Linked DNA regions of Homo sapiens: region 1 is linked to region 2. The links are contacts of gene promoters, found by promoter capture Hi-C in blood cells and fetal thymus (Javierre and others, 2016). All regions are on one chromosome and are shown on one strand. The core of a region is centred on a gene start or on the middle of the fragment in contact, and the rest is flanking DNA. Distances in the headings are between cores, read along the strand shown.

Evidence for each region. Contacts are between HindIII fragments. The CHiCAGO score rates a contact against its expected background, and 5 or more counts as called.
Region 1: a fragment that was not itself captured here is called in contact with the fragment with the promoter of SLC9A7 in region 2 in 1 of 17 cell types (neutrophils); the score reaches 5.4 in neutrophils.

What each region holds. Positions count from the first base shown.
Region 1 is chrX:46,980,052-46,984,522 of GRCh38, forward strand. The region is part of intron 1 of JADE3 (jade family PHD finger 3); the gene reads left to right. Among named protein-coding and RNA genes, the nearest start is that of JADE3, 70 kb to the left of the region's middle. The HindIII fragment of the contact is 1,439 bases long and covers 1,215-2,653 here.
Region 2 is chrX:46,756,022-46,760,674 of GRCh38, forward strand. SLC9A7 (solute carrier family 9 member A7) reads right to left here and starts at 3,097. Exons shown (of 17, transcript NM_001257291.2): 1 at 2,684-3,097. The coding sequence starts at 3,008. RefSeq lists silencers at 2,869-3,008, 3,029-3,378. The HindIII fragment of the contact is 14,531 bases long and covers 1-4,653 here.

The DNA of each region.
Region 1 (4,471 bases), core at 684-3,183, 220 kb after region 2:
GTATTTTTAGTACAGACGGGGTTTCACCATGTTGGCCAGGCTGGTCTCGAACTCCTGACCTCAAATGATCCGTCCGCCTTAGCCTCCCAAAGTGCTGGGATTACAGGTGCGAGCCACCATGCCCGGCCCATCTCTTGATTTTTAATTAGGTCATTTGTTTCCTTACTGTTGAATTTTTAGAGTTCCTTATGCATTCTGTAATATAAGTTCATTGTCAGATATGTGTTTTATAATAAATATTACATGTATAATATTTCTAAGAAATGACCAAAATATTTTCTAGAATAGCGATTCCTTTTTACATTCCCACCAGCAATGTATGAGTGATAGTTTCTTCACATCTTCTCCAGCATTTGATATTACACGTGTGTGTAATATGTGTAAATATTCTGTCCCATTCTGCTTGCTTTTGCGTCTTCTTAACAGGGGCTTTCTCAGAGCAGAAGTTTTTTTAAAAATATAAGTAGATAGTTTATTTGGGCCAAGTTTGAAGACCACAACCCAGCAGCATAGATTCAAGTTGCCCTGGATATGCTTCTGAGAGCAAAAGTCTTTAATTTTGATGAAAACACATTTTTCTTTGCCAATCATGCTTTAGGTATCAAGTCTGAGAACTCTTTGCTTAGCCCTAGATCCTGAAGACTTTCTCTTATGCTTTTTGTAAATATTTTATAATTTTACATTTTTCATTTAAGTCTGTGATCCATTTTGAGTTACATTTTGTATATTAGGTTGTGGTAGGCAGAGATGTCCGTGTCCTAATCTCTGCAACCTATGAATATGTTAAGATTGCTATTTAGCTGACTATAAAATAGGGACATTATCCTGGATTATCTGGGTGGGTCCAATGTAATTACATGGGTTCTTAAAAGTGGAAGAGGGAAGCAGAACAGAAGGGTCAGAGAATGAGATGCGATGACAGAAACAGGATCAGAGAGATTCAGTGTTGTTTGCCTTGAAGATGGAAGAAGACAGCCAAGATCAAGGGAGTAAGAGTGTCCTCTAAAAGCTGTAATAGGCAAGGAAATGAGTTCTCCCCTGTAGCCTCTAGAAAGGAACGCAGTCCTGATGACATCTTGATTTTAGCTCTGTGAGACCTGTGTCAAAATCCTGACCCACTAAACTATAAGATAGTAAATTTATGTAGTTTTAAGCCACTGAGTTTGTGATAATTTGTTACTGTAACGTTAGAAAACTAATAGGTGTTTTAGAAAAGCTTCTATTAAAATAGGATTTTATACATTTGGGTATACTGTGTATCTGAACAATTTTTATATATGCAACATCCCCATGATATCAGATAAATGAAGTGCTACTCTAAGTAGATCTGTGCATTCAGTGGGGAATAGTTAGAAAATGTATTACTTTTATTTCTGCTTAAATTTCTACATTCATTGTGACTTTAAATTCCCCACTACTACTTTTTAATAGGAAGTGTCTTGTTGTTACTGTTGGTTTTGTTTGCGTTTCAGAAGAGATTTGAATGAAATTTTGCACCAGAGAGCCAAATGTAGCCCCAAAAATTTATGTGATGGGAGGCTCTTTTTTAAAAATATTCAATTGACTTTGACTGTAGGACAAACAGAACCTTAGTTAATGGTTCTGATTCTTGTACTAATTTTATTAGTTTTTTAAATGACAGCTTTGAGATATAATTTGTATACCATGCAGCTTACCCACTTAAAGTATACAATTCAGTTATTTTAATATATTCACAGATATGTGCAACCAATCACCAAAGGACACAATATGTTTTCACACTGTCTTCTAATTTTGTTTCTGAGAAATTAGCTGTTAATTTTATTGGAGTTCTCTTGTAAGTGATGAGTTGTTTTTTTTCCCGGGCTGCTTTCAAGATTTTCTCCTTGTCTTTGGCTTTCAGTAATTTTACTATGAGGAATCTCTTTCTGGATCTCTTTGCATTTATCCTACTTGGAGTTCTTTGAGTTTCCTGAATATGTAAATTAATGTTTTTCAGTAAATTTGGGGAGTTTTTCTAATATTTTTTCTGCTCCTTTCTCATTCACTTTTCCTTTTGGTACTCCCATTATGTATATGTTGATGAACTTAATGATGTTCTACATTTCTCTGAGGCTGTTTCTTCTTCTTTTTTCCATCTGTTCTTCAACTTGCCTAATCACTGTTGACCTACTTCAAGTTCATTAATTCTTTTTTCTGCTTGTTCAATCTACTGTTGAGGCCCTTCAGTGAATTTTTCATTTCAATTGTGCTTTCATCACCAGAATTTCTATTTGGTTATTTTTTATACTTCCTATTTCTTTATTGATAGTCTCTGTTTTGTAAAATATTGTCATCATACCTTCCTTTACTTCTTTAATCATGGTTTTCTTTAGTTCTTCGAACATATTTATATGGCTAATTTGAAGGTTTTGCCTGTTAAATCTGACATGTGGTTGTATGGGTCATACTTTCCTGTTTCTTTGCATATCTCTTAAGTTTTTGTTGGAAACTGGGCATTTTGGATAATATATTGTAACAATTGTGGGTACTACCCCTCCACCAGGGTTCTTTATTATTATTTGCTTGTTTACTGCTTTAGTAACTGCCTGGATTATTTTATTGAAGTCTATTTCCTCAACCCCCATTCTCACCCTGCAGTATGAAGCCTCTAATGTTGCTCTTCGGGGGTACAAGCTTGTGTATGCCCACAGTCACCCTGGGATGACAGTGGGTTTGGTGAGGCTCTCCTTGGCTGTCTCTTTACTTGACCACACCATGCTGTTATGGTCTACTAATTGTTGACTGGTTGCTCTTGTTTTGTTTTTGTTTTTTTGAGATGGAGTTTCACTCTTGTCGCCCAGGCTGGAGTGCAGTGGCGCGATCTCAGCTCACTGCAACCTCCACCTCCCGGGTTCAAGCAGTTCTCCTGACTCAGCCTCCCGAGTAGCTGAGATTACAGGCGCCTGCCACCATTCCCAGCTGCTCTGTTGTTTTAATCATGTCCTGGAATATAAATTGCTCCACAAACTGATCCAATCAAATTAGGGCTCCTTTGAAGATAGTTCCTGAGATCTGTGTTTGAGATTTCTTCTGACCGCAAGAGGCTCTTTCCCTGCTGTCTCTTTCTCTGGTTCTCTCTGGCATATTAGGCAGCCTAGGCTTGAACTTCTGTACACTCAGTTGCAAATGAAGTCAGTTTCATTGCAGGAGAATTGAAGCCCCCTATTCTATGCCCTGCCTCTCTCCCTGGGAAAAATCTTTGAGCCACAGCTCTGGCGCAGTGGATGGAGATAAATGGTGAGCTTCCCTCTGAGTGTCAGCCCCAGGTCTCCCAGGTTTGCCTCTTCTGGTATAGAACCCCCACCCCACAAGGTAACGCCAGAGCAATCAAGGCTCTGGTATTCTTGGTGGCACAACACCCAAGGCATAGCCTCCATCCCATGAGTTGGGGGCTAGGTGGAAGAAGGGAGCCCCCACCTCTCAGCCACATTCTCCTGGAACGTAGCCTCAGCAAAAGTAGCTGGGAACGGGATAAGAGATGCCGACATCCTGTTCTTCCCAGGAAGAAAGGAGCTTGGAGCTGGGGTAGAAGGAACCCTGTGTTCTTGGCTACTGTACTCTGGCATGAGATCTTTGCTGGGAGGGAAGATGGAGGAAGTGGTTCTAGATCCAAATACTGCAGACTTTGACTTTACTTTATGAATTTTAGTAGATTTTCTCGAATAAGTACTTCATTTGCTGTATGCCCTTAAAACCATTTCCAGAGACTTTAAATGGTTGGTTTTTTTTTAATTGAAATAACTTTCACCAATTTTGCTGGGAAGAGGGTCGTCCATGGAGCTGCTCACACTGTTATGCCAGAAGTGGAACTCTGTGAGCTTTTTAATGTAAAATTTTGTTGCTGCTATTCTTAATTGCTCAGAGTGGCCTTGTATTTGGATTTCTACCTCCTCAGTAGATTGTAAATAGCTTGAAGGCAGTAGCCCTGACCTTTATTCATTATGGAATCATGATAGCCCCTGGTAGCATGTTGTATGTTGTGGCACATAAAAGAATGTCAGTCACTGGCTATATTGCTGTCTTTTCAAGTTTACATTTTCAGCACTTCGTTTGTGACTTAAAGTGCTTAACTGTGTCTTCCTTTTTTCTTACACTCCAGTGCTAGTGTGTTCCCAGAAGGGTGATGCTTCTTTTTTATCTGTCATTGGCCATACTCAGGGAAGTACACTTGAACCGTTGGAAGTTTTAGTCCAAAGCATTTTTATTTACCCTTCACAATATAGGAGCTTTGTTTAACATTCCTTGTAGTGTATATATAATTTTGACTTTAGGCTACTTATTTGGGATATGGGGACAGGAAGAGAGTGAGAGAGGGATAAAGGGCAGGCAGAAAATCAGTGTGGTCGTGTTCTTAAAGGTGGATGTGCCTCACTTGTTCTTTCTTCAGCCAACTATGTCTCATGCTTTTCAACCTTGGCTCTTGATGGCCCTGCCCTCATGACTGACCTGT
Region 2 (4,653 bases), core at 1,847-4,346:
ATCTTAAATGTAAACGCTGTTCTTCTCAGATTAAAGTGTCACTTAAACACAAAAAGGTGGCAGAAATTACATTTTAAAACTTTTTCTCAAAATAAAGAGTTTTGAAATTCACAGTTGAACTCTTTCATTCATAAACATTTAAAAGTTAAATTGTTTGCCTCCAGAAATTAAGTTGGGTTCCCAGCACACAGTGGATACTTTAAAAATGTTTCCTTAGGTCTTTTTGTCGTTCCTTATTCAGAGCCAAGAGGACAATTACTCACTTCCTCTATTGATATAGAGAAATCAAATTTTATTTTTTACTATTAAAAAAGAGAAGTCTTGAAAAATCTTTACTGGATTTACTTGTGTTCAAAGATTTGCTTGACAGTAGTAATCATTTCATTGTGTTTATCAAAACATCATGTTGTACATCTTAAATGCAGACAATTTTTTAAAAGATTTGCAAACTGAATTTTAAGATCAGTTTAAAATCCCCATCCCAATAGTCTTCAGTATACTATGAATAATTAGCTAATCACATGACATTAGAATTCAGATTAGGGGGACCTTGCAGTAGAAGACCAAACATACCTGAGAGAAAGAAGAAATGTTTTCTCACAATTACAGACAGTCCTTAAAATATTAATATTTGGCATAACCTGAGACATCACATATTGACAAACTAAATTTCTTTATACATTTAAAGAAACACTAATACTCAAAGATATAGAACAAAATTACACAGGAATGCTGAGATGATATTGCCTTTTCTGAACAGCCATCAGTTACACTAGATTTGTAACTTGATTGTTCACAAAATAAAACAGTACACTGTAGCACAACCAAATGGCTGAAAGATGGAGGTGAGTTTTAAAAGTACGTATCAGCAAAGGAAAATTCCACTGTTGTCTTTAAGCCTTAAGATAAAGGTGATTGAACTCCTCAGAACACGGAGTACTCTCCAGAAAATATATTTTCAAATCCCCATTTATTTTCCATCCCTTGAGCATGTGTTTACGAATCTGACAAATCTACCTCCTATTTCACATTGTCCTTTAAGAAACTGGGTCTAGGGCCTATTAAATAAAAATATTTTCACGGTTATCTATATAAAGGCAATTTTCATTTGCATCATGGCTTGGAGTCAATCACCTGCAATGACCACGTGCTTCAATTCCCCCCTGTCTGTCTTCTCAGGAAACCTCCCAGCTTACCTGCAGGCCTGGCATCAGTCATTTATCACCAACTGACACAAACCACAGAGCTCAACAACGGTCAGGGATGGAGGCCAAAGTCTGTGTTGAGACCTATAATTCGCAATCACCAAACTCGGTTTTAGACCTGGTCCTGTTTCAAGATCTGTGTAGGTCACTACTTCATCAAAACTGGAGGGCTCTTAACAGCGCTTGCCCCTTACACGGTTTGGCTGCGAGGGCCTGGTGGCCATGAGCCCCGGCTGTCAACAACTAATCAAGAAACATGAGAAGCAAGGCCCAGAACCAAGGGTAATTTTCACATTAAAGGTTAAGGTTTCTGCTTTCCATTCTCTATCAGGGCACCTGGATGGAAACTGAATAAAGAAATCCCTCAGTATATGTGATAAAATAAAATTTTCCCCGTTGGGAACAATCATGAAGTGGCTCGTCTATTTCGTGTGAGGATGCCAATTCAGGGGCTTTAACACCACTGAATTACATTCAAAAAGAGAATACCTGACTCCACTTTGGAGTCATGGGCAGGGCGAGGGGGGAGGCAGGGGGCACAGAAGAGGAAGAGGGATGACTCAGATTATGGCTGACATCCATGTAATAAAGGGAGATTTGTACTGACCACTGTGCATGTAACACACTGTGTACCATTAAATCTAGAAAAGGATGGTAGCATCAGCCCACCCCTAACAACAAAAGATGGCTGACTCCGGAATTAAAACCACGACTTTTCCCCTTCATACATTCGGAAATGTATCTCAAACTCACTCCCTGTTACCGTCTTAGGAATACAAAAGCTCCTCTTCGTTTGAGAAAGCAAGTAACTGGGTATAACTTTCCACTCGGGACATAAGAGCAGGAGGCGTGCCTGTCTCCTCGTCCAGGCCTGACATGGTGGTGCCACCCACTCTGGGTCCTGGACCACTGCTCACCTTTCACCACACTTCATGCTCTGACTTTATCATTAAGAGACCTGGGAATGTGGACCTCAGGAGTGGGTACCCACCCAGGCTGACCATGGATGTGGCGTCCAAGAGGCCCCACTAACCCATACCCAAGCAAAGACACTTTCAGACTTCGTCCCCACTCCCTACTGTGGCCTGTCCCCTGAGGTGATGCAGTCACCTGGGAAGCCACCCACCTCCAGCCACCACGCAGGCACACACACCCTATCGAGCTCAACTGGAGCGGGAGGTGGTGGGTAAGAGGTTTGCAACAGAGACCGAACGGGGCAGACGGAACCGGACCACCTCTGTCCCTTTCATTTTCCTGGGTTCCCAATGCAGAAACGTGGAATAGGGGTGGAATTGTTTTTAACGGTAGCAGAGAGCCAGAAAATGCAGACAGTTGACCTTGGGAACCAACACCGTCGCAGCGGGAAACGTAAAAGAAACGGAACACGTTGGCAAGTGAAGGGGGAGCACCGCGCGGCGCCAGGAGGAGCGCGGCGGCCGAGGGGTGTGGAGGGCGGGGGGTGTAACAGGGGTGCTCACCATAGATCATGGCCAGCCCGGTCTCGTGCAGAAAGCGCACCCGGCGGTGCTTGAAGAGCCAGATGGTGAGGATGGTGAGCGTGAGCAGCAGGATGAAGGTGAGCAGGCTCACGCTGTCTTGCCGGTGGCTCTCCTCCGCCTCCTTCTCAGTAGCGAGCTCCTCCATGGCGCTGCTGTCCTCCGCCGCCGCCCCAGAGGAGGAGGCCGAGGCCGCGGCCGCGACTCGCAGCCCCCAACCCAGCAGCAGCGGCAGCAGCAGCAGCCGCGGCGGCGGCGCCCCGGTAGCCCGACCCGAGCCAGGGCGCGCCGCGTCACCAGGCTCCATGGTCCCGGGGCCCCCCGCGCCTCCTCCGAGCGGGGACCAGCAGCCCGCGCCGTCGGCGGGTTCTGGCAGCACCGCGGACCTGCCGGAGTGGCCGTGGCCGCTGCAGCTCCTCCTCCTACTCGCGCCGGGCCGGGGCTGCGCCCGGGGCCGCGCGGGGGAGGGGCGCGCGCAGTGCGCAGGATCCCCAAGCACCGCCCCCCGCCCGCGCACCTGTTCGTCCCCCGGCCGCGCCACGCCGCACCGCCCCGCGGGCCAACCGAGCCACCCAGGCGGGGCCGGGTGTTGCCCTCGGGTCTGCGGGCCGGCCGCCGGCTGCTTGCCTCTCTGCGCTTCTCACCCCGTCCTGGCGCACCTGCCCAGGCAGTCTGGGGTCGTGGGGCCAGTTCATGGGCAGCCGCCGCCGCACTTCCGAAAGGGGACGCCAGAGGTCGCCGGCGCCTAGCGGGAGCATCGGCTTGGAGTGACTAGCCTTGCGGTCTCGAGTCCCGTCTCTGGCGCCACGGCGAAGTGTTTAATCTCAGGCCAGTGTGCAGCCGCCCTGGGCCCAGTAAAGTGGGGGCTGTCAGTGAACCGAGCAGCCCCGAAGCCACGTTAGCCCCTACACCTCTCTTTCCTCATCTCTCAGGTTGCCCTTCCAGCCCCAGAATCTGCTAGGTTTCATTCAAACCTCTGTTCTCATCAGACTCAAATGTGAGGACTGATAAGGAGTTGGAATCGGGGGAGGGCATTGAAGTATCTCCTTCCTCACTTGAGGGAATAGACTTCGTCTGCGCTGTGCTACTAATCCCCTTGGGGAATAGGGTTGAACCAGAAGGAACTGAACGCTTGCCATTCCTGGTAGATGAGCAGTAGCTGGTCCTAAGGTGGTGGTGGGGGGTGGGGGTTACCCTGATGACCCTTTCTTTTATGTTGCTCACCTGGTAGCTCAGAGAGTCTTTTAATGACTCTTAAGACCAAACCCAGCTCTGAACAAAATTATGGCGTGGACTCTGAAGGATGAAGCCTCTTGGAACAAATTCTCAGGAAAACTAGAATCTTCAATCCACCTTGCTCCTCTGGTCAAGGAAGAAACAAGATCAGATTAATCACTGAGTTCCCAGTGCTTAGCACTGTACTCATGTGTTTATTGAACCACTCTGAAATCTCTACCAAAACTGCCCATGTTTTCGCTCCCAGGGGAGTTTGCATTTTTAAGAGGATTCATTGAAGAAGGTGATGCTTAACCAAATGAAATAATAGGGTAGAGGTAGCATTAGGTAAGAAAACTCTTTGGAGTACTGCAGCCTTCCTGGTTCCCCTGTAGGTGAGCACTCTGCCAAAGCTGTTTAGTGGTTTCTTTAAAGCAGGGAAATCTCTTCATCTACATTTTAGCTAGCCCCTTTCCCAACTCCTCTAGGCAGTCACTCAGCCCCTGCAAACATCCGTATACCTTGAAGTTCCACACAGGTTTCCAATAAAATTGCAAATACTTAAAACCTGGATGGGCACTGTGTTGGTCATAATATTATGCCCCTTTGGGTGCCCAGTACTCAAGGACAGAATTTCTCTCTTTAGAAAAGGGCAACTCAGGAGCTACCTTAAAAGTACAGACTTCTTAGTATTTGTGGCGGATTGTATTTTTTAAAAAGATGGCCACAATCATATT